Linked DNA regions of Homo sapiens: all the other regions are linked to region 2. The links are contacts of gene promoters, found by promoter capture Hi-C in blood cells and fetal thymus (Javierre and others, 2016). All regions are on one chromosome and are shown on one strand. The core of a region is centred on a gene start or on the middle of the fragment in contact, and the rest is flanking DNA. Distances in the headings are between cores, read along the strand shown.

What was found. The method cuts DNA at HindIII sites, captures the fragments that hold promoters and counts their contacts. A CHiCAGO score of 5 or more calls a contact.
Region 1: a contact is called between a fragment that was not itself captured here and the fragment with the promoter of C1orf141 in region 2, in 2 of 17 cell types (naive CD8 T cells and activated CD4 T cells). The highest score is 5.6, in naive CD8 T cells.
Region 3: a fragment that was not itself captured here is called in contact with the fragment with the promoter of C1orf141 in region 2 in 6 of 17 cell types (total CD8 T cells, total CD4 T cells, naive CD4 T cells and 3 more); the score reaches 7.7 in total CD8 T cells.
Region 4: a fragment that was not itself captured here is called in contact with the fragment with the promoter of C1orf141 in region 2 in 1 of 17 cell types (naive CD4 T cells); the score reaches 5.1 in naive CD4 T cells.

Annotation. Positions count from the first base shown.
Region 1 is chr1:67,487,604-67,494,183 of GRCh38, reverse strand. No RefSeq gene overlaps it. Among named protein-coding and RNA genes, the nearest start is that of LINC01702, 31 kb to the left of the region's middle. The HindIII fragment of the contact is 4,993 bases long and covers 2,624-6,580 here.
Region 2 is chr1:67,132,971-67,139,359 of GRCh38, reverse strand. C1orf141 (chromosome 1 open reading frame 141) reads left to right here and starts at 4,390. Exons shown (of 8, transcript NM_001276351.2): 1 at 4,390-4,430. It also overlaps a transcript of IL23R not described here. RefSeq lists an enhancer at 1,647-2,157. The HindIII fragment of the contact is 7,094 bases long and covers 4,066-6,389 here.
Region 3 is chr1:66,743,429-66,750,005 of GRCh38, reverse strand. It overlaps SGIP1 (SH3GL interacting endocytic adaptor 1), which reads right to left. Exons shown (of 25, transcript NM_032291.4): 25 at 1-6,577. Among named protein-coding and RNA genes, the nearest start is that of DYNLT5, 5.7 kb to the left of the region's middle. The HindIII fragment of the contact is 1,356 bases long and covers 2,369-3,724 here.
Region 4 is chr1:66,776,678-66,782,850 of GRCh38, reverse strand. It overlaps DYNLT5 (dynein light chain Tctex-type family member 5), which reads right to left. Exons shown (of 5, transcript NM_152665.3): 5 at 3,804-5,600. The coding sequence ends at 5,397. Among named protein-coding and RNA genes, the nearest start is that of INSL5, 22 kb to the left of the region's middle. The HindIII fragment of the contact is 3,603 bases long and covers 786-4,388 here.

The DNA of each region.
Region 1 (6,580 bases), core at 3,871-6,370, 350 kb before region 2:
TGCTGTTCTGGTGCCATTTGTAGGGGCCCAGCCTAGAGCCCGCTCCTCCAGCATTTCCATTAATTTTTTATAAAAGTGCAATATCCTGTCATCTTTTATAGCTTATATAGCTAGTATTTTTATTTTTATTTTTTAATTCTTTGTTTTGTTTTGTTTTGTTTTTTGTTTTTTTGAGACGGAGTCTCGCTCTGTTGCCCAGGCTGGAGTGCAGTGGCGTGATCTCAGCTCACTGCAACCTCCACCTCCTGGTTCAAGCAATTCTCGTGCCTCAGCCTCCCAAGTGGCTGGGATTACAGGCATGCACCACCACGCCTGGCTGATTTTTGCATTTTTAGTAGAGACAAGGTTACACTATGTTGGCCAGGCTGATTTTGAACTTCTAGCCTCAAGGCATCCACCCTGCCATCCACACCTCAGCCTCCCAAAGTGTTGGGATTACAGGCGTGAGCCACCACACCCAACCTAGAGCTGTTTTTCTTATCTTGTAATTGTTTTCAAAATTTCAATGTGAAATCTTCTGATTCATAAATAACGGACTTGGGCATAGTCGTGGTCAATAAGTAACAGTTATTATCATCAAGCAGCAGATCAAGAGCTAGATACCAGAGCCTGGTCTTGGTCTGACAGCCTGGAATGTTCCCCGAGGCAAGGTGCCTTGGTTTGCCTCTGTGCACTCACCCTATGGCCTGTGCAATTTTGATTCTAGCCCTTAAAACAAAGATAGCACTGATTCATTTATGTTTCTAACGTCCCACAAGGTTAGGATGCCTTTGAGGCTGGGATGGGTCTCATTATTTTCTGTATTATAATCCCAGCACCTAGTACAGTGACTGGCACATGTCAATCAAATATTCAATCTATGCCTGTTGGATGAAGACAGAAGTGTTTAAGGGTGTTTATGACTAGGCCTGAACCTTCTAAGAGAAAGACCTTGGCAGATATAAATTCCACTGGAGTTACAAAGAATATGGACACATTGGCCTCTGAAGGTCAAAAAAGGAATTTTTTTTTTTTTTTTTTTTTTTTGAGACAGAGTCTTGCTCTGTCACCAAGGCTGGAGTGCAATGGACCATCTTGGCTCACTGCAACCTCTGCCTGCCCGGTTCAAGTGATTCTCCTGTCTCAGCTTCCGGAGTAGCTGAGATTACAAGCATGCACCAACACACCCGACTACTTTTGTATTTTTAGTAGAAACGGGGTTTCACCATGTTGGTCAGGCTGGTCTCGAACTCCTAACCTCAGGCGATCCACCCACCTCCGCCTCCCAAAGTGCTGGGATTACAGGTGTGAGCCACCACGCCCTGCAAAAGGGATATTTTTTAATATGCCAGGGAATGTCTTCCCCCTTAGGGGATGAACCGTTGGGAGAAACCAAAACCCAGGGCTGTTTCCTACATGCCTGGCAGAAGCCTTGTTTGGGGGTTGAGGGTGGAACAGAGGGAGGCTAGCACTTTTCACAATGTTGAAGCAGACCTGCTGTTCTCAAAAATGAGCTTTTCTAAAGGGCTTATTCACAGATCAACTGGCTACTTTATTTATTTATTTATTTACTTACTTATTTATTTATTTTAGATGGAGTCTCACTCTATTGCCCAGGCTGGAGTGCAGTGGCACCATCTCGGCTCACTGTAACCTCCTACTCCTGGGTTTGAGCGATTCTTCTGCCTTGGCCTCCCTAGTAGCTGGGACTATGGGCACGTGTCATCATGCCCGGCTGATTTTTGTATTTTTAGCGGAGATAGGATTTCACCATGTGCCAGGTTGGTTGGTCTCAAACTCCTGACCTCAAGTGATCTGCCCACCTCAGCCTCTCAAAGTGCTGGGATTACAGGCGTGAGCCACTGCGCCCGGCAGAAACTGGCTACTTTATATGCTTCAGATCAGCATGCCTCAAGATCTTCAGTCACATTGCCAGGGACTGATGGGTTCAAGGTTAATTACATGATTCTATCCAACCAGGATTTATCGTGCCCACCTTGCGGAAGAGTCAATTAACCCCTCTTGAGCTTCTGCTGCCTGTGAGGCACTCGTGGACAGTTCCATCTACAGTGCTAAGCTTAATCCTTCTTAGCCACCCTGTGGGTGCATGCTGTTGCTACCCACTTTTTCAGATGAGGCAACCGAGGCTGGAAGAGCCTGAGAAACTAGCTCTAGGCCTCTCCCCTGAGTGGTAGAGAAACCAGGCTTTGAACCTAGGGCTGTCTGACTGCAGGGCAGTGTGCAAGTCACAGCAGGAGCTAGCACCTTGACTTTGTCCTTTAATAACACCTCTCACAATTGTAATTCATCAATTGTATCATCATGAGTTTATTGTCTGCCTTCCTGGCCACACTGTCTGCTCTAGAACGACCAGAGCCATGCCTGTGTCGTCCACAGCTATGTCCTCAGCACCAGCAAATAATGGGCCTGGCACAAAATGGAAACCTGCTTTCATTCATTAAAAGAATTTTTAAATGAATGAATGAAATTAACAAACAAAAATGACATAGATATCCTGCTCTGTAGCATGTGATGATGGTCACATTCTCAGCTCCTTGCTAACTCTCACCTGGCTTGTTAAAATAATTTCCTTATTGTCTCCACATTTCTGCTAATTTTACCCTCCTGCATAAGGGAATAAGCTTGATCTTTCCTTCTTTTTTTTATCATTAAATTACACTGGAAGGCTTGATCTTTCTTAAAAAGCACACTTGAGCGTGTGTGGTGATTCAGCACTTTGGGAGGCCAAAGTGGGAGGATCCCTTGAGCCCAGGAGTTCAAGACCAGTCTGGGCAACATAGCAAGACTCCATCTCTACCAACAACAACAAAAAATAGTTGGACACAGTGGCACACACTTGTGTTCCCAGCTAATCGGGAGGCTGAAGTGAGAGGATCACTTGAGCCCAGGACGTCAATGCTGCAGTGAGCCATCATCATGCCACTGCGCTCCAGCCTGTGAGTGACAGAGTGAAACCCTGTCTCAACAGAAAAAGGGGAAGAAAAAGCACACTCATAGCACATTGCAGGCCTCCTGAAAGTTGTTACCAGTGCCCCATTCCCTGCAGGACAGAGTCTGAGCTACTGGGAAGGGCTTCTAAGGCTATGTGCTTCCCATCTGCCTCTGGAACCTTAGTTGGCTGCTCTGAGGCCCAGGCCTTGCCCCCGGCAACCTCAAGCACTTTATAACACCAGCCTTTCTGAGCTACCTCACTGGTTCCCAACCTTGCTTTCTTTACCAGAAATCTCCTCCCCACCTCCTATCAAACCCCAACCCCATGCCTTGCTTTGTGTGCCTGATAGACGTTAGCTCACTCTTTTTCCCCAGATGTGGTAAAATTCACAAAACATGGGACGGGTGCAGTGGCTCACACCTGTAATCCCAGCTCAGGAGTTTGAGACCAGCCTGGGCAACATGGCGAAACCATGTCTCTACCAAAAATACAAAGAAATATAGCCAGGTGTGGTGGCATGTGCCTGTCGTCCCAGCTACTCCAGAGGCTGAGGTGGGAGGATCACTCGAACCCGGGAGGCGGAGGTTGCAGTGAGCTGTGATCGCACCACTGCACTCCAGCCTGGGTGACAGAGTGGGACCTTGTCTCAAATTTAAAAATAGACAAATAAATAAATCGAAAAGACCCAAGGCTTCTTGGAAGAGGTAGGAATCAAACTGGTCATTGAAAGTCATGTGGGCATCATTCAAAGAGTGGATTTGAGGAGGCACAGAGAGGACCAAGAAAGCACATTAGAGGCCCAGAGAATGAGGCTTGAGCAAACCCTGTGGGAGAAGGGGTGTTGAGCAGATTCTAGAAGGATGTGGCTGAAGCAGAGGACATGTGGGCACAGTTGGAGATAGGCCTGGAAAAGTAGATTGGGACCAAGTGTGTAATGAATCTGTAGTCAATGAGGAACTATGAAATGTGAAAATTGCGGCTGGGCACGGTGGCTCACACCTGTAATTCTTTCACTCTGGGAGGCCAAGGCAAGAGGATTGCTGGAGGCCAGGAGTTTGAGACCAGTCTGGGCAACATAATGAGACCCTGTCTCTCCAAAGAATTAAAAACTTAGCTGGGCATGGTGGCACACACCTGTAGTCCTAGCTACTTGGGAGACGGAAATGGGAGGATTGGGTAAGCCCAGAGGTTTGAGGCTGCAGTGAGCTATGATCACACCACAGCACCCTGGGACAGAGCAAGATCTTGTCTCTACAAATAAATAAATATGATCTGAAAATTGAGTATGAAATACTCAGAATACTGAGATCATGGTTTAGGAAGATAACTGCAGGGTCTACAGGAGGATGGGTTTAAATGGGGAGAGACTAACTACTAGGTTTGCACACTCAGATGCCTACAGAGGGCAGACAAGGAACAAAATTGCAATAGGTACCTGGTCAACTGAACCACACATACCTTCTCATCAGTGGGCTGCCGCTGCTCAGTTCCAGCCAATGCTGCCATGTAGATTATGAGTCCAGTGTTATCAGATTTTTCCATTTTTCAGGGAAAGCCAAACAATACAGATTTTCATGAGATGCTAACTTGTTTAAAATTTTTATTTTTAATTAATTTAATTTAATTTTAATTTTTTAAATTTATTTATTTTTTCTTGGGAGACGGGGTCTTGCCCTGTCATCCAGGCTGGAGTACAGTGGCGCGATCACAGCTCACTGCAGCCTCAAACTCCCTGGTTCAAAGGATTTTCTCACCTCAGCCTCCCAAGTAGCTGGGACTACAAGCACGTGCCACCACACCTGGCTGATTTTTGTATTTTCAGTAGAGATGGGGTTTCACCATGTTTCCCAGGCTGGTCTCAAACTCCTGGGCTCAAGCTGTCTGCCCACCTCGGCCTCCCAAAGTGCCGGAATTACAGGCAAGAGCCACTGTGCCTCGCCCAGGACTCTAACTTTTAAGTATGAACTTGTAAGTTAAAATGACTCTCAGACCACCTGTGTGGAGTCTCTGAGAAAAGAGTAAACTATTTTAATAGTCCAGGAAGAAGTGACCAAGTCCTTATCTAGGGCAGTGGCAATGGGAACCAAACATGGAAACAGACAGCACAAAACCTGGTGGAAGTAGGATCCACTGAATTTGATGACTAACTGGATGTAGAAAATGAAGAAGAAATGTTGAGAAAGACTCTGATGTTTCCAGTCTATATGCCTTAGAGGAAGCTGATGCCCCAGGCAGCTTCATAAAATGGAACAAGAATAGATGTTGAATCAGAGAGAACTAGCTCAAACGCAGCTCTACCACTTACTAGCTATGTGACCTTGAACATGTTACCTAACGTCTCTGAGCCTTGGCTTCTTCGTCCATTATATGAGGTTAATCTGAATGCATCCCTCTTGAGTCATTTATACAGATCAAATGGGGTCATGCACCTAGTGTGCTTAGCACAGAGTGTGGCACATAGTAAGAGCTCAAAGGTTTGTTGTTGAAATTTATTGGCAACATTCCTTTACTCTACGTTCAGCAAGAGCCTCCACTGTTTTCTTTTCTTTTTTTTTTTTTTTTTTTTTTTTTTTTGAGATGGAGTCTCGCTCTGTCACCCAGGCTGCAGTGCAGTGGCACAATCTTAGCTCACTGCAACCTCTGCCTTCCGGGTTCAAGTGATTCTCGTGCCTCAGCCTCCCGAGTAGCTGGGATTACAGACACAAGGCACTGTGCCAGCCTCTTTTTTTTTCTTTTTTAAGAAAAACTCTCACTCCATCACCCAGGCTGGAGTGTAGTGGCATAATCTCGGCTCACTGCAACCTCTGCCTCCAGGTTCAAGCGATCCTCCCACCTCAGCCTCCAGAGTAGCTGGGACTACAGGCACACACCACCACACCCGGCTGTATTTTTTGGTATTTTTGGTAGAGGCAGGGTTTCGCCATGTTGCCCACGCTGGTCTCGAACTCCTAACGTTAAGTGATCCACCCACCTCAGCCTCCCAAAATGCTGGTATTACAGGCATAAGCCATTGTGCCCAGCTTAGGTCATGTCATTTTTGGGTTGGATTTTCTGACATGTGTCACCAAAAGATTCCTAACTGATTTGATTACAACTACTATTACCATGACTTTTCCACTTTGATTCCAAATGATGTCATAGGCTTTGTAGAGTTTAAAGCTGGCAGCCCCTGGGAAGGCTATCTCTAGTGGTGGTACCTCGAAGACGAGGTCCTGTTCTTGGATACCTCTAAGATGAGAGGATGAACAGAACACGTATTTGTGAAAGGTCCAAGGTACTCTGTGAAGGTGCAGTGAACCTGTCAAAGCTCAGCACACCTTACATCAGTTCAGCATACTTTCAGCCCCATTTTGCTTGTTAGAGAATGACTGTATCAAGGAACCAGTGGTGTGAACTGGATTAGTTCACTTATTAAAAACATGTTTTTATGTTTACATTAACTGCCTTCCTCACTAAACTGTCCGCTTTGCATATATGGACTTTCTCATCTTTACAGACTTTGCAGACAGAGAGAGCCTTTGAGATCATCTAGGCCAAAGTTATCCAACGTATAGTAAAGGGGTCACTCTTTTCAAAGTTGAGAAGTGGAGTCAGGCACTGTAGCTCACACCTGTAATCTTAGCACTTTGGGAGGCCGAGGCAGAAGGA
Region 2 (6,389 bases), core at 3,141-5,640:
CTAGGCACTGTGCTTGGCCTAGCAAAAGTAAATGACTGGTAAATCATTTACTTCTCAGACCAGCCCTCTGAGATAGTTAATCTATCCATTTTATGGTTTCCTTTCATTTGACAAATATTTGTTGAGCATATTATCAGTCTCTAGGCTTACTTCTATAGAAAAATAAATCAGACTGGTTTATACACAAAGAGAACTTACTGGATCATGTTAGCTGAAGAGGTCTAGAGTAGCTCTAAGTTCAGTGATCGCTTGACCCTGGGCTCAAATGATACTGCCCAGGTCCAGCTCTCAGTTTTCTTCCCCTGGATTGACTCCACTCTTAGGATCTTCATAGTGGCTCCCATAGCATAAGGCTCAAATTGTCATAACAGGCAGACTAGAAGAGGAAGTCTTCTTCCCTGAAGGCTCAAAGTCCCGGAATAAAATTGTCTGGGCCCTGACTGGCCTCCCATTAGTCACCTGCTTCTCCCTGAGCCAGTCACTGTGGTCAGGGTGTTGTGATCTCATTGGCCTAACATAGATAACTTTCTCCATCCTTAGAACCAGGGGGCTGCAGAAGTTCTGAAGTCCCTGTGCTGAGGGAACAGCATGAAAAGACACAGATATAAAAAGCCCAAAACTTTGTGAAAATTCCCATTAAGTTACAAGGTAGTCACTTTCTGTACCATGGGTTTGCTGAGATAAAGCTAGAAAGACAATCAGAACTCAGTTCAACATAGAATGGGCTCAGATGGTAGAAGTTCTATATTCTATGCTGCATGGTTTTGACTGAATTTGGAAGGGAATGTCAAGCCTAGGAAGGAAACAAAGGGAGAAAAAAAACACACACACAAACAAGAAAGAATCCCAGGGTACAATGATATTTACAGCAGGCAGAGGAAGAAAAGTAGGAGAGAGTTGTGTAATTGAAGCCAAGGGAAGGGAATGTTTCAAAGAGCCAGAAGTAAAACGTGTCCAATTCAGAAGAATTGTCAAGTAACATAGGACCTGAAAGACGTCCATTGGATTCACAAATAAAAGAGACAGAAGGTCATTAAGTGACCAACTAGCACATTATCTAGAATAAGAGAAGTAATGGGCAGAAGGGATAACAGGTAGTGATCAGAGAGGACCTGTTAGAGCTTAATATTTCAGAGTTAGGGGATAATGAAGTAAAGATAGCTTTAATCTGGAAAGATAATGAGTTTTGAGGCAAAACTATTGGCTTAATGGATTTATTATGGAAAGGAACATTGGGAAAGTCCCCAAATCTGTAAAAGTGAGAAATGCCTGGGAATTTGTTAGTAAATATGTATGGGGAGATAGTTGTCATTAACCTCAGAAGAGGCAGCTTTTCCTAAGGAAGAAGAAACTTAAAGATGTGAAAGGAACATTAGGAATGGTGAAGAATACTGACACTTCTCCCAGGCTTCATGGTTTGTGTAGGGCAAGGGAAAAAAAATGCTCTTTTCTCAAGAGAGGACAGAAGGCAGGGGTGGAGAATCACAGGCTTTTCACCATTTGGGGATGATTAAGTACAAATTTTGATACTTTCTAAACCTAGTAGGTATATAGTAAAGAATTTATAGGAAAGACTCTCTTGCCCAAAGAAAAGAAAGTCCGGCCTTTGCCCTTGCCTTCTGAGATATAATCTCTGGGCCCTAGGAATGTTATGCCTGATAGAAAGAGCTTTATTTGCCTGGAGACCTTGAGTCATATGAGATAGTCTAACAATGTGATTTAGGATGGGGAGGTGGCCACACCTGCATAGTCTTAGAGTAGGGACTGGCCACTCCAGAAAGATCAACAATGTGACTTAAGGCAAGGGCTTTGGGTCACGTGGTATCCATCAACTTGGAGATAGAGATTAACCATGTGGTTAATCAACCGATTATGCCTGTGTGATGAAGCCCCACTACAAACTCTGAACACAATGATTGGGTGAGCTTCCCCGGGTGGCAGATCTCCATGTGTGCATTGTCATTCAACAATGCTAGGGAGTAACCTGTCCTGACTCCACAGGAAGAGGACAATAAAAGCTCCACATTTGTTATTTCGGGACTGACTCTGCCCTGTGAACTTCTTTCCTTGGCTAGTTGTAATCTGTAACCTTTCCCTGTAATAAACTATAACCCTAAATACAATAGCTTTCAGTAAGGTCTGTGAGTCTTTCTAGCAAATTATCGAACCTGAGGGTTCTATTCAGGGTTTTGACGGCCCCCTGAACTTGGTGTCAGAAGTAAGGGCAGTTTTGGGGAATGTGCTTTCTAACTTTGTAGTTGGCCTACTTCAAAGGAAGCAGGAAAAAGTCTGCAGATTTTATTTTCTTTGTTTTCTTATAGTATACAGTTTATATTTTAAGAAATCTGTATACTTTTAAAATAAAACATTCATTAGGCTCCTTTACCCAGTATTTATCTATAATAGGTTCATGAACTCATTCAGTAAATACTGAATTTAACTGAGAGCAATTAAAGTAGTTAGGAAAAAATCCACTTGAATTCTTTTTTGTGTACATTTACCAAACATTTGTTATTAAAGAGAAAATACTTTGTACTTTGTGTTATATTAATAATTGTATTACTAATTATAAGATGCTGGGCAAATCACATAGTTTCTTTGAATTTCAGTCAGGTCTTTTCTAAAATCAAAGATAATACCCTTTCCATAGATACGAATTAAGGTTTAAGAATGAAAAGTAAAGGATGAAATTAGAACTATTTTAAAGTTGTAGCCTAGTACCTGACATGCAGAACGTGTTCCATAAATATTAACTGAGATAATGATAATATTCTAAGAATTTCATAAGATTCATGCTTTACAAATTTTATTGACTGAAGATTAATGAGTAGCTAACGTTTCTGAACTGAATTCTTAAGAAGCTAATTTTCACCTCTGTACAAATTTTTGAGCTGAAGGTATTACAACAATCTTAGACAAATCACCACTATCAACTAGATTCCAGTTATCAATTCCATACAAACCATTGTTCCTGAATGTATATGGCTTAAAAAATATAATAGAATCAAGCTACCTTGGCCAGTCGCAGTGGCTACTCACATCTGTAATCCCAGCACTTTGGGAGAACAAGGCAAGAGGATCACTTGAGACCAGAAGTTCAAGACTAGCCTGGGCAACATAGTGAGACCCCTGTCCTTACAAAAAAATAAAAATAAAAAAATTAGCCTGGCATAGTGGCATGCACCTGTAGTCCTAGCTACTAGGGAGGCTGAGGTGGGAGAACCACTTGAGCACAGGCGATTGAGGCTGCAGTGGGCTATGATCACACCACTGTGCTCCAGTCTGGGCAACAGAAAAGAATCAAACTACCTTCTACTTTTAATGATTGTATTTTTGTTTTTTAAATATTTGAAATAAATTGATTCCAGTGTTTTCATGCATTGACTATTAATATCAATTTCTAGCCAAATTTGGATTGCTACATAACTATACTTTTTTTTTTTTTTTTTTTTTGCAGTTTTGCCATTGCCACTAGCACAGACTTGTGATGATTAATTCTGGTGCTTTTTTTCCTTTTCTTCTCACAGATGTTGAAGTGCTGTTTTTTAAAGCTTTTCCCCCTATTTTGATGCATCAGATAAGGTACATTCTTGGAATGATGAACAACCCCTGACTTAAAATGTAACCAATATTGTGAAATTCCCCATCATTTTAAATTAAATACAAGCTGTTTTCAAGTCAGTCATTTTTAGATTATGGCTCTAAAAATAAATGATTCCCATGGCCTTAGTGCATTTTCTGCTCACACAAGTGAGCAATAAGGACAAATGGTTCCTTAGGATACAGTAAATACAGCAGAATGTATGTCAGTGTATCTCCATTATGTCTCATAAAAATGCTAAGTGGTATGTGTGTGTGCAGCCAAGTCTGCTACACAACTTGCGTAATACAGTGGTGATTTTACTAACCACACGGGAGGTTTCTTGGCCTTGGAAATAAGAATGGTTTTTTGTTGTTGCTGTTTTTAATATCATAAGCCATGAAAGCAATCTTCCATCAAATATTCAAATATAAACTGTTGACTTCCATTCAGACCTGCAAGCTGTATGGTGGACTTTGTAAGCTTCTTTTTGAAATTCGATGTTTCCAGGAAAGCACAAAAGGAGAAAGGAGGTACAATAAGGGGAAACAAAGTCACTGTTCCCCAGTTCTTTTTACTTGATCTTCTTCTTTTACTTGACTCTCCTTCCACTCCTTCAGCATAATCGGTTTTAATATCCGTAAGCATCTGGGGAGTCACCTGGGCTTTTAGTGACAAAAGTCTGTGGGCGAAGCCCCTCTGAGAAGAGAACTCTGCTCTCTAGGCCTTTCAGAGGTAGGCAGAGCTCGGCAACCGGTTTCTACGGACCGAGGACGCGTTGCTAAGGGACTGAAGGGTGGGGGCGGGGCGAGTAACCCGCGGAGCCAGAAGAGGGAGGAAAGGAGATGAGGTTTGTTTCAGGGTGCGGAAGGGTTGGAAGAGTTGAAAATCAAAATTTGCATGAGGGTGGGAGGCGAAATAGGAAAAACGTCGTTTTACATAAACGGCCTTTCTGTCCCCGGAGTCGGTGGGACGTTCTCCAGCGGGGCCTGGACCGGGAGAGTGTGGTTGAGGTCAGGCAAGTGTGGGACCGCGGCGAGAGGCGAGCCCGGGGGGCTCTTCCAGGTTCGCGGAAGAACCCTTTGCATCTTCTAAACTAAATATTAATGAGCTTCCTCAATGTTGCCCTTAATTTTGCTTTCCCATGAAACGACCATAGGCATAGAGCGTTTGAGTCGGGCTTCCTATGTTTCCAGCGAGATGGAGGCACCTGGGGGAAGGTGACTCGGGGCCGGGCAAGAGATGCGAGAGGCTCTGGGGGCCGCTTAATTGATACATTTCCAAATTGACGACTCCCAACATCCTGGAATGGATGGTGGAAGCTGATCGCCCCTGCGGTAATTGTGCTGCGATTTCGAGCTGGCTAATCAATTCTTGCAATCATTATCTGATTAGTCGCCCACAATAATACTCCACAATCCACGTACATCATAGTTTTAAAATTCCTTAGTAGTTTTTCTTAGAAACTTCCCTTCCAGGCCGGCGCGTTGGCTTACGCCTGTAATCCCAGCACTTTGGGAGGCCAAGGCGGGCGGATCACTTGAGGTCAGGAGTTAGAGACCAGCCTGGCCACAGTGGCGAAACCCCGTCTCTACTAAAAATACAAAAATTAGCCGGGCATGGTGGTGGGCGCCTGTAGTCCCACCTACTGGGGAGGCTGAGGCAGGAGAATCGCTTGAACCTGGGAGGCGGAGGTTGTAGTGAGCTGAGATCGCAGCCACTGCACTCCAGCCTGGGTGACAGAATCAGTGAGACCGTCTCAAAAATAAAAATAAATAAATAAGGGACAAGAAAATGCATAATGCGGAACTAAGCACATAGGTCGGGTTTTTAAATTAGTTCTCAGTGCCTGGGCTGTACTAGCTTGCTGGGACTGTCATGACAAAACATCATAGACAGAGTGGCTAAACAACAGAAATTTGTTTTCTTACAGTTCTAGACACTAAAAGTTGGAAATGGAGAGGTGGGCAGGGTTGTTTTCTTCAGAGGCCTCGCTCCTTGGCTTGGGGTGGTGGCTGCCTTCTCACTGAATCTTCACAACGACTTTCCTCTGTGTATCCTCGGTGTCCCAATCTCCTCTTCTTATATGACACCAGTCATACTGGCCAGAGGCCTACCCTAACAACCCCATTTTAACTTTACTCTTTAAATGCTGTATGTCCAAATACAATCACAGTCTGAGATCCTGGGGCCTAGGACTTCAACATACGAATTTAGGGGCAACATAATTCAGCCTATAATATGGGCCATTTATCAACATTTTAGATTTAAAGAAAAAAGATTCCCCTAAGTCTATCCTTGGAATGTGAGATGGAGATAACTCAGCCAGTTATCTAATTATTGAGTAAACATTAATCATTTAACAGATGAAGTGAGTCCCTACTGTGGTCTCAGTAGTGGACTGTGTCAGATAAGAGTGTAAGAAGTGGCCTCGTCCTCAAGGAGTAAGCATTTGAACTGATAAAGCCACATAATGGAAGTGAATTTTAATTTAAGCCTGCATTTTCTAGATAATTTCTCAGGCCTTTAGTTTGTAACTTTAGAGATTCTTAGTTTTCCTGAGTTGTTTAGAACTTGCTGAAGAACTCTTCTCAGCTGAGCCTATTATATTGACGACACTGGGTTTTGTTATTTTTTGTTTGTTTGTTTTTAGTCCCAAAGGTGCTGTTAAAATAAAATTGTTCTCTTAAAATATTTAAGACATTTTTATTTTAGATATGACTTAGTCTCTGATATGCTAATAATATTGACCTACAATTTTTGTTGAGAGCAAGTTTTTGCAGTGAGGCCTGTAGATGATTCACTGTGA
Region 3 (6,577 bases), core at 1,797-4,296, 390 kb after region 2:
GAGAGAGAGAATATGAATTAGATAGGAGCCAATCTCTTTCATGTATGTCCATTTAACAAAGCAAGAACTAAATTCTGACCTGAAAAATCAACACAGCTATATGAATTATCATTCTAGCAACTTGAAAAGGGAAAAAAATCTGACTTTGGATCTTGGGACAGTGGTTCTTGTGATAGTTACTTGTTGTATGATTTAAAATACCTTAGAGTGATGGTGAATGAATAACATCAAGCATTTACTTTGCGAGAAAAAAAATTCATAAAAGTAATGTAAAACTGAATGAGCGAGATGGAATTAACATTTGTATGATATACTCATTCAATGGAACGTTTAAAAATTATAAATGGCTTATGATCTATCAGGCTGATTCACAAACTCTGGATGGATTAAAAACTGAACTATCTTTAGAGAAATGTAAAGTGATTCAGTTTGATTCTTTTCTATATGATAACAGACAATTTAACCAGGAAGTTTTTAAAGAAACTTCGTTAATTTGGTATAAAAGTAACTGATTGGCAAAGTAAAGCAAAGCAAAAAAAGAAAAAAAAACAGCAAAAAAAAAACCCTATGAAATGCTCATTAAAAGAGTATAGAATCTCACAAAATCTGTGCTAAACAGTGCACTGCTCTTAGCTTTCCCCAAAGTGTTTTTAATATAATTTCTGACAAGCTGATGTAAAAATACTGTCAACATTGATCTATCATGATTCAGTTTCCTAAAGCTGTTTAGTAAAACGTTACTGGAGATTATTCACTGGCATTAATTCCACACGGCAAAGAATTGGAAACATCTTCAACAGATAGGGGTCTGATATGCTGGTCATAGGTGCAAGCCTTAAAAATAATACAAAAATTAAAATAATTTTATTGTTTTGTTTTGAATATTTTAGATGATAAAGTTAAATTCACTAAGAGATACTAATGAAATTTAAAATAGATAACAATTCATTTGAAATGACAGGAATTCTCTTAAAATTAAAACAAAATTCCAGAAGCATTTTTTTCAAAGCATTCCTGGTTATTTTATTTACAATTATTGAAGGATATATAAACTAGTGTTAAAAGAAAACTTTTCCAAAGGTTTCTCAAGGTGTGCTTAGAAAAAATTTTTTTTACCTGATTCAATAACTTTCTTAAGCTTCATTAAAACACTAACATTTATTGTCAATGTCCAAGGAGAGAGAATTATAGTATAGGACCATTTGTTCTCAGACCACAATGAACATCTTCCAGAACACAATTTGTAAAATACTGGAATATTGGTGAGCATAGCCCAAATACACTTTACTTCTTTTCTTTAAAACATTACGGGACATTTAAAAATATATTTGTTTTTTGCCAAAACATTTTTTACAAGGATAAAGATGTATTTAAGGTAGGCAAGGTATTACTCTAGGGATAGAAGGAGGCAGTTAGAAATCAAAGGAAAAATAATTTTAGAAGTTAAACCTAGAGAATAAATTATTATACCCATGGTCAATGCCAACAAATAGGTGTCTTTTCCTCATAGACATACCCATTTAGGAGAGAAATCAGATATTAAATGTGAGGGCCAATCAAGAGGTTCACCATGGTCAACTCAACAGACTTTACATTTGACATTCCTTCATGAAATATATTTAGATCTTAATTAGATGTCAGCAGTGCAACTCTAGCTTGCAGAAGATGACAGAACATTGAAGCAATGACACAAGAGAAAGGCAAGTGTTTTGTTGTTGTTTTTAATATTTAGAGACTTAAGCAATGTACTCCTATCTCATTTTCCTTCCATACACTCCACTGACAAAAAGGAACATTAATGGTAGCCATATTTAATTCATAAGTGAGAGAATGGCATTTAGATACTGTTTTCCACATGAAAAAAAAGCCTAAAGGAGCAGGGAAAATACAATAAAACCTTAAGAGGAAAGTGCACACAGTAAAAGATGGTGAGGCTGGTCATCCAAATAGTCCCTTTAATCAATGTAACTTGGATTGATTTGTTCATTTATATCAACAATCTAATTTGACTCATTGCATGGACACATCATATTATATTAACTTTCAAAGCTATATTTAGAGATCACTCTTGTTTTGATATTATTAAATATAATGTAACACTTCCATTTTTTAAAAAAATTGCTGATCAGAAAACCATGTGGCAAAATGAGTACATTTAGACTGAATGGGATTTTGCTCAAATGTATAATCTTTTGGAAAAGGAAAAGCTTAAACACAGACACATACACACACACTCATCTGTTTAGTATGTATCTGCATATTCTACTGTATTGTTCAATTTAATTTACAGCCTGTGGTTATTTTGAGAAAAAATATTCGTGCAACTCTTTTAGAATGAGGCTACCACATGTTTGTAAAGTCAAAAGCTTACAAAATAAATAGGTTCAACTCACAAGTTAGAGATCTGAATGTCCCTTGCAAAGAAGGAAACATTGATTAGGATTTTGTATTTGAATAAATAACAGCTTGCAACTTCCCTTCTACTTCAAGTCTTTTAAGACATTGAAGAAAAGGACAGAAATATGAAAATGAGAAAATGCATTTCAGGCTACTTTGAGACTGAGATAGTATAACAGAGTAACTTTAAGAAAAAGATAGGGATTTTCCTAGGGAAAAAAATTTTTTAAGATTGGAGGAAATTAAGTGGACTGAATGAAAAATAAACTGACTAGAAAAATGGTTTTCATCTTAGAATTTAATGCTTAAAATCTGATATAATGTCAGAACTAAGAAGGACCTTAGAGATCTACTAGAGCAATGATTCTCAAATTTGGAGCACTTATCAAAATGTATATTCCCAAATCTCATCCCTAGAAGTTTATGCTGTCAATACAAATTTATCGATGCCTACTGTGTATAGCTTGTATGAACTTGATTATACATGTTTCCTTATAATGCCACAAAAGGTGGTATATCTGAGTAAAGTAGAATCATGGAATTTCAGAGATGGAAGACATTGATATGTGGTAGATCATTTTGTGTTGTTACGGTGTTTAACAATGTTTATCAGTGCCTACTATCTTCCAGGCATAGTGGTGACCAAGCCAAAATCATTAATAAGTGATGATACAAAACATTAATAAGTGATGATACCAATCATATTTTGAGAAGCAGTGATTCTTTTTTGACAGTTTTGTTATTGGAATTATCCTTATTTTGGTAATGGTTTTTCATGGTGCCTTCTACCTTGGCATTCAAATGGAGTACGTATAGTGACATAAAACAGATTGTTTTGTTCAGGGTGGACAAAGCAATTAAGGCGTTTCCTTTGCAGTCAGAATAGCTGGGTTACTTTCAGCTGCCGTGTCATTTTGGGGAGATTATTCTATTTAAGCCTCAGTGTCATCACTTGTAAAACAGGAATTAAAAAGAGTACTTACAATTTTTTGATTGATAAGAGAATTAAATGAGCTAATATCTCTAGTGACTGGTACATGGTAAACACTCTGTCAGTTTTTATTGTATATCATTCAATTACTGTGTTTTTACAAGTTTGCTTATAAAGCCTCAAAAGGTGGTTTATCTGAGTAAATTACAACTGTGGAACTTCAGAGTTGGAAGACACATGATAGATCATTGTGTACTGTTATGGTATTTAAACCATGCTCTGGGGAGCCCCAATTTAAACTGTTGGAGAAACTCCTGCATTGCTTTGAGCTGTTTTGCCTACCAGGATTCCATGTGCAATTTTATTAGAAAAAAAGCCCTGCTGTTAAGAAAAGCTTGAAAACCACTGGCAATCCCAACTCCCCATTCTAAAGATGAGAAACTGAAAAGGGCAGTGATTTGTCCAATATCATACGGCAGGAGTCAGTGGCAGAGCCAAGGTATTATAGTTATCTGCTTTTCTAAAAGAAGATTTAGAAGTGGAAATACTTGTAATTATAGCTCAAACACTCTGCTGACTAAGAATATATAAAACAAAAAAAATTCTGTAGTTTGACTGAGGGATTCCTATCTATTAACTCAAAACCGTTTGAATTGTGGACATTCTTTCTTTTACAGGTGAAATATATTCCCAAATACCATACAGTGAATTTCCATTTTGGCTGTGGGTGTAGAGAAGAACACAGCTTTAAAAATGATTAAAAATTTAATTCTTAGTAATTATAAATTTCTATTATGATAAAATTCAGACTAATCCTTGATACAAATTTATTTTTAAAAATTTCACGAAAATATGGATTTTATTGGAAAAGAAAAACAAAATTTCCATGTTGCCAAAATAAAGTAGCATCATTTATACTTTTTATCTTGCTAAAGCAGAACCTTTTAAAGATCATAACGTTCAGGAAATGGTGTTCTGGTTAACTAGAACAATTTCTTTTTGTTTTAACCCCTAGTACTGAAAATAGTTTTATTACCTACTAGTTCATTTTGTTCTGACTTGGGAATAAAATGAATAAATGAATCTGACTTAATGTCTTTGATAACTGAGACTCTTTCATTGCCTGGGACCATTTTCAGGACATGAATTCTTATTCTACAGTACTGTGGATATAGATGTAACAGGAGATTATAATCTACAAAATTAAAAAGAAACAACAAAATGTCAAAATGCAAATCCCTGATACCAGCTTATTGTGTTATTATTTGATCTCTTTTCTGAAAGGTGAAGGGATACATTTTCTATTGAGGTTCTGGTTACTCATAGTTCAATCATTTTGAAATTGTTGACTCCCATTCTGTTCCATAAAGACCAGTTAAGAGATTATAGGATTTCTTCATAGTTTCTAATTTAATCCCTAGAAAGATTTGAATAATGTTAGAGATTACTGTAATCTATGTTTTTAATTAAATTTTTAAAAATCAGTAAAATTATTTTTTGGGAAAAAAACCCTTGTGTTTAATTACTAATTCATTCTAGATCTATACAAAATAAAACAAAATAAAATATAAATACAAAGACATGAGAACCAGTAATATTTACATGTTTTTAATATGCTTTGTATTAATATTCAATTTTTTAAATGAATTGATTACTTAAAAACACATTGTTATATTCATATGCTGGATAATTCTCAGTTTGCTGCTGCTTACTCTCCATTGATTTTGGTGTCATAAATTCCATGTTTCATGGAATTTAGAATTTTGCATTTTCTATTTTGGTTTCAAAATCAAATTGGATACCTTTACATAAAATGAGTATATTTAGTTCGTTCAAAGAAACTTCAACACCAGACTGCTGTAGGGGGCCAACTGAGAGTTTGTTGAATAGTAAGAATTTTCCCATGGTAAAACAAATCATTTTGGACATTCTCTTGGTAGCAAGCACTGATAGAGGAGTACAAAGATTAATTTAAAAAGTTTCACTATAAACAATTGCCAGTCACAATCTCATTTTAGAAGTAAAACTTTAAAAATTTAATTTAATTCTAAAATTTAAAGGGGCTAAAGATTCTTTGTTAAATTTGAGTGGGTGTAAAATGAAATTTAACAACTAATTATAAAAATAATAACTTAATAATTACAGCTATTTAATAGCATAACCTGTAATAGAAATTGGTTTATGTTTAAATAAGTTCTATGACTTAAAGGAAGACTAACATTTTCAGATATTAATGAGGGAAGGTTTTACAACTGAGACTCCCGAAGAAGTTTGTCTTTCTAAATGTTCATATGGCAGGGCCAGATTGAATAATTACAGTTTTTATTATACCTTGCAACGATGAAACGACATACATTTTTGATAACTCTCCTTTTGCTTCTCCAAGAATGGCAAAGATTTACAGTTTTATACAATGAATCCTAATCATCCAAAAGGAAATTTATTACACAGTAATGTGAATAGAATTTCATTTATGAAGCTTATTTTTTCATTCTCAAATGATATAAACAATGATTAAAACTCTCCTTCTGGATCTAAACAGTGGACTTTTTTTTCCCTAAAATTCTCAGTCTCAGCGTTTTGATTCCTGTGGGTAAAGAGGAAGACGTGAGGTATCATTCCCCCATACTGGATGAGTAAGATCATCTATTCAGAGTAACTAAGCAAAAATTCTTAACCAGTTCAACTACGGAAAGTCTTGAAATCTTAAAATCACAATTTTGGTTTTAGTCTGACTGATTATTCAGCAATCCCCACATTTGCGAAACTGTAGAGAGGGGCAAGTAGTTAAGACTTCAACATCTTCTTTACTCTTGATTATAATTTAATATACTTAAACTTTAAATATGAATTGCTTTCCCTTTTTACACAAGTTATAAAAATAAGAGGCCCTGTTTACACAGTTTGCATTTTTATGAAATTTGCAGTTTGAAAAAAAAGCTTTTTAAAAAGTGGTAACTAATGCTTTTCTTTGAATATGCTGTAACCTTAGAATTTTTTTCTGAAATAGTTTCTCAATTTAACCCACTAAACATTTGAAGATAGAGTTTTTATTTAGCACTAGAGTAAAACATACTAAGCATTGAAGAAAAGTAAGTTTGTTTCTTTTTCTTCTGGTTCCACTTAAGTTTCTTTAATATGTGGCACCCCCTTTATGACAGCTATCAATATTATATTTAAATTTTATATATTGACAAAATGCAATCTACCTCTGTAAGCATTGTGCCATTCAACAATACTACTATTAAA
Region 4 (6,173 bases), core at 1,338-3,837, 350 kb after region 2:
TTCTGTTGATTTAGGGTGGAGAGTTCTGTAGATGTCTATTAGGTCCGCTTGGTGCAGAGCTGAGTTCAATTCCTGGGTATCCTTGTTAACTTTCTGTCTCGTTGATCTGTCTAATGTTGACAGTGGGGTGTTAAATTCTCCCATTATTATTGTGTGGGAGTCTAAGTCTCTTTGTAGGTCACTAAGGACTTGCTTTATAAATCTGGGTGCTCCTGTATTGGGTGCATATATATAGTTAGCTCTTCTTGTTGAATTGATCCCTTTACCACTATGTGATGGCCTTCCTTGTCTCTTTTGATCTTTGTTGGTTTAAAGTCTGTTTTACCAGAGACTAGGATTGCAACCCCTGTCTTTTTTTGTTTTCCATTTGCTTGGTAGATCTTCCTCCATCCCTTTATTTTGAGCCTATGTGTGTCTCTGCATGTGAGATGGGTTTCCTGAATACAGCACACTGATGGGTCTTGACTGTTTATCCAATTTGCCAGTCTGTGTCTTTTAAATGGAGCATTTAGCCCATTTACATTTAAAGTTAATATTGTTATGTGTGAATTTGGTCCTGTCATTATGATGTTAGCTGGTTATTTTGCTTGGTAGTTGATGCAGTTTCTTCCTAGCCTTGATGATCTTTACATTTTGGCATGTTTTTGCAGTGGCTGGTACTGGTTGTTCCTTTCCATGTTTAGTGCTTCCTTCAGGAGCTCTTTTAGGGCAGGCCTGGTGGTGACAAAATCTCTCAGCATTTGCTTGTCTGTAAAGGATTTTATTTCTCCTTCACTTATGAAGCTTAATTTGGCTGGATATGAAATTCTGGGTTGAAAATTCTTTTCTTTAAGAATGTTGAATATTGGCCCCCACTCTCTTCTGGCTTGTAGAGTTTCTGCCGAGAGATCTGCTGTTAGTCTGATGGGCTTCCCTTTGTGGGTAACCTGACCTTTCTCTCTGGCTGCCCTTAACATTTGTTCCTTCATTTCAACTTTGGTGAATCTGACAATTATGTGTCTTGGAGTTGCTCTTCTCGAGGAGTATCTTTGTGGCATTCTCTGTATTTCCTGAATCTGAATGTTGGCCTGCCTTGCTAGATTGGGGAAGCTCTCCTGGATAATATCCTGCAGAGTTTTTTCCAGCTTGGTTCCATTCTCCCTGTCACTTTCAGGTACACCAATCAGATGTAAATTTGGTCTTTTCACATAGTCCCATATTTCTTGGAGGCTTTGTTCATTTCTTTTTATTCTTTTTTCTCTAAACTTCCTTCTCGCTTCATTTCATTCATTTCGTCTTCCATCACTGATACCCTTTCTTCCAGTTGATCACATCGGCTCCTGAGGCTTCTGCATTCTTCACGTAGTTCTCGAGCCTTGCCTTTCAGCTCCACCAGCTCCTTTAAGGACTTCTCTGCATTGGTTATTCTAGGTATCCATTCATCTAACTTTTTTTCCAAAGTTTTTAACTTCTTTGCCATTGGTTTGAATTTCCTCCTGTAGCTCAGAGTAGTTTGATCATCTGAAGTCTTCTCTCAGCTTGTCAAAGTCATTCTCCATCCAGGTTTGTTCCATTGCTGGTGAGGAGCTGCGGTCCTTTGGAGGAGGAGAGGCGCTCGCTTTTTAGAGTTTCCAGTTTTTCTGCTCTGTTTTTTCCCCATCTTTGTGGTTTTATCTACTTTTGGTCTTTGATGATGGCGATGTACAGATGGATTTTTGGTGTGGATGTCCTTTCTGTTTGTTAGTTTTCCTTCTAACAGACAGGACCCTCAGCTGCAGGTCTGTTGGAGTTTGCTAGAGGTCCACTCCAGACCCTGTTTGCCTGGGTATCAGCAGCGGTGGCTGCAGAACAGCGGTGGCTGTAGAACAGCGGTGGCTGTAGAACAGCAGTGGCTGTAGAACAGTGGATATTGGTGATCTGCAAATGCTGCTGCCTGATCGTTCCTCTGGAAGTTTTATTTCAGAGAAGTACCCGACCATGTGAGGTGTCAGTCTGCCCCTACTGGGGGGTGCCTCCCAGTTAGGCTGCTCGGGGGTCAGGGACCCACTTGAGGAGGCAGTCTGCCCGCTCTCAGATCTCCAGCTGCATGCTGGGAGAACCACTACTCTCTTCATAGCTGTCAGACAGGGACATTTAAGTCTGCAGAGGTTACTGCTATCTTTTTGTTTGTCTGTGCCCTGCCCCCAGAGGTGGAGCCTACAGAGGCAGGCAGGCCTCCTTGAGTTGTGGTGGACTCCACCAAGTTCGAGCTTCCCGGCTGCTTTATTTACCTAATCAAGCCTGGGCAATGGCAGGCGCCCCTCCCCCAGCCTCACTGCTGCCTTGCAGTTTGATCTCAGACTGCTGTGTTAGCAATCAGCGAGACTCCGTGGGTTTAGGACCCTCTGAGCCAGGTGTGGGATATAATCTCCTGGTGTGCCATTTTTTTAAGCCCATTGGAAAAGCGCAGTATTAGGGTGGGAGTGACCTGATTTTCCAGGTACCATCTGTCACCCCTTTCTTTGACTAGGAAAGGGAACTCCCTGACCCCTTGCGCTTCCCGAGTGAGGCAATGCCTCGCCCTGCTTTGGCTCGCACCCAGTGTGCTTCACCCACTGTCCTGCACACACTGTCTGGCACTCCCTAGTGAGATGAACCCGGTACCTCAGATGGAAATGCAGAAATCACCCATCTTCTGCGTTGCTCACGCTGGGAGCTGTAGACCGGAGCTGTTCCTATTTGGCCATCTTCCTTCTAATCTTAGTTCTAACCACTTATCTTCGTGAACACTGTGTTTTATCCAGCCTAGGCTTCCTGTAATCTTCTGCCTGTTGAAATTCTAATCTCTCCATCACAGTCTAGCTTAAATTTTCTTTCCTTTCATGAAGGCTTCCTTGATTCTGTTAATTGGATAAATGTATTCTGGATTTTTCTTATGACAACATATTTGAGCCTATACTGTGGTCACTTGTGTACTTCTCTTTTCACCCCTATAGGATCCTAGTTCCTCAGGGGTTGAACTGTGTTTGCTATTATCTATGCAGCTGGGAGTTATGTAGCACAGTGCAATGCACATAATGATAACTTTAAAAGTAAAAATGATTTTTATTTCTAGGCACTGTCAAGTTATGTGGTCCATGTCCTCAATATGTCTTCAGTCTATTAATAGTAAGGGAAACAAAACTAGAATTCAAAAGTTAGCTAGAGAACAATCAAGAGCTCAACCACGAGAATAATCAGAGGAGAGAGAGAGCAGGAGGCAAGCAGTGAATAGAGAAGGACTGAGAGAAAAGGTAAGACCTGAATGTGACCCTGAAAAGCGAAGAAAGTGGCTTAAGTGGGAGGGGGTGTTCCAAGGTAGGAAAGCATGAGTGAAGGCTCTGGAGCAGGGATGGGCATGGCTGGTCTGGGAAGAAGGATGGCACTTTAGGAGAGGAAAAAAATACCAGGGAAGTTCAGGGCATTTCAAAGTAAAACAATTCCTTCAAATTTATAGTGTCATTGTTTTAAAAATTTCTCATGATAAGGTTCTGTGTGATAATTTCATTAAAAATTTCTCATGATAAAGTTCTGTGTGATAACTAGCTTCTCCCAAGTTAGTTGCAAGGAGTGAGTTTTTACTATGTATTCTTATACTGCTATATAATTGCTAGAATTCATCACTGAGTATCTGAATTACAGTGTGTAGCAATATGCTGGCAAACTGCTTTCTTTTTTGTTTTTTAACTGCCGTCATGTTTTGCAGTTTCGATTCTCAACACAGCCTGGGGAAGACAGTAAGAAATTATCTCATGGATTAGAATTTAGAACTCTAAAACAAACAGTCATTGTTACAATAGACTTTGTATATGTTAAAGAAGTTTCTTCATTTTCATTTATTCATACAAAATTAGTGATATGATTACCCCCGCTGTTGTTCCACGAAGGGAGATGTTCACCAATGTGTAATGAAAATATGAAGCTCATTTACTTGTTATACGTGTAATCTAATCCAGATTGAAAACTGTTCTATGGAGATTGACAAATATTGGTTGTGATAAATTATTACATAGACATATTCCCACTAATGCACTAACAGAAAAAAAAAAGTGAAAATTGACAAATTCATTTTGAATAATCACTTTAAAAGCCAGAAAATAGCAGAAGGGAAGGGATTTTAAAAGTATCCATTTTTTACTACATGTCATTTTTAGGGAAAAGTAAGACACCAAAACATTTTAAAATTAAAGCATTAACTGGTTTTCCATTTGCTAAACTCTTTTTGATATGAATGATAAATCATTTTTTCCTTAAGACTACAGCATTGCTAATTTTCTCCATATGTGTACAATTTGTCTTTGACCTTTAACAAATGTCCTCTAGGCAGTCCACTTACCATCCAAGAACAACGCCACAACATCATTTTACTTGCACACAAAGACTTGAAAGCTTCATAAAAATAAATGATCCGTGGCGTAAGATACATTAACCAGCAGAATAATAAGCTATTTCAGCCCTGTAAATTTTAGCACCCGTCTATTCAAAAACCTCACTGGGTCACTTTAGTATTAAATTCATAGGAGTAAAATGGTAACTACACATGCTTTATTTGTTAAGGTGCCAGCCATATATTTTGTGAAAAAGTTTGTTAGCCTAGGATATTTAAAAGCAATGTCTCTTTCCAATAAATGATTTTATGTGTTACAGACACATTTAGTATTAAGCATCATGTATATTTAATATCACAATGTCTACTTCAGTGTCCCAAAAAGCCTTTATTCACTTTATAGTTTCCATTACTGAAGAGCCAACTTTCGGTTCTCCCACAATTGTGTAAAGTGCAGGCAAGCCACAAGAGCTTCTAGTTTTAGCTTGCAGCCCGTGGGACCACGATAATTGTTATGAAGCCATTAATTCTACCTCAGCAGTTTCAACTGTCAGGTACATGTAACAATAATTGCACTTAATGAATGCTGCTCAATTTATTAAGTACAAAATGAAAACCAGTATTCTTTTATATGCAGCACTGAGGCACATTATTTATCATTTGTGTATACCATGTTGAATATTCTACTATCATTTATTGGTCAGGGTATATAGCCATAGTTTTTCTAAAGCTTCTTTTTATTAAAAAACAATGCAGGAAATTGTAACACTCTAATTAAAGAATAATTAAAATAATTAGTACCAAAACAAATATTTAATAAGAATCTATGTCTATGGAAAGCAATCCAGCAAAACCAAGATCAAGTTCCTGCTTTAGATAAACAAGATTCTTTCTGTGGCTACCCTCCCCTCCCCAAATCTTTACTAGAATATGAAAAAATTCAAAAGCTTCCAGTTGCTTGAAATATCAGTGTTGTTTCTTTCTCAAAGTTTTTGGCAGTAAAACTTTTGTGTACAGACATACAGCCTGCCTCAGAATTTTCAAAAGTAAGAGCTAGATTTCTTATTTTCAATCACTCAAGGTAAACTGCATAGACATTTGCAAGAGCGAAGAGAGAAGAATTTCTGAAAACATAAGATGAAAAGGTATCACTTTTAGGATCCCAGAGGCATCTGCTTCCAATAAGTATGCTCTGCCTGTTCAGTTGTCCAATGTGAACAATCACAATTAGTTTATACCGTGGAATCATCAAGTCCTTGACCTGGGCTTTAATAACCTAGAAATTTAAAAAAAGGGAGGGTCTTCATTCAGCTACATTGAAACTCAAAAGCATTAACCTTTGTTATAAATATAAGGGATTTAATTTAATAGCATGATGCATTGTAGATACTTTCAGTGATTGTTTTAGAACCGTAAGTATGATTCCCTTCAAGCATGGTCCCCTTGAGATAGAACATTCAGGAACAAAATTTTAACACCAGCAATAAATCAACCTTTTCTAAGATACATGAAATAATTATAATCCAGAACACAGAATTTAATAAATTACATTCTTTGAAAATTTATGTTAAGATGGCTTCATGTCAAAGAATGTTGGCATTGGAGTTACACTGTCTTGTTCATGTCTAATTAAGAAACCATACATCTGGAGTCTCCTGTAATATAACTAATCATTAATGTTTATTAAAGAGTTTGTTATCAAAAAGAAAGTAGAGGAAACCTTGATGAAGTGCAGCCCTGGGGTTTGTAAAAATAGAAATGTGCTTGAAGACCACAATGTCTGTATTTGATGGCACTCAAAGAAGCTGCCTTAGTGAAGAGAAAATAATCATTAAAATGTTGTATCTTT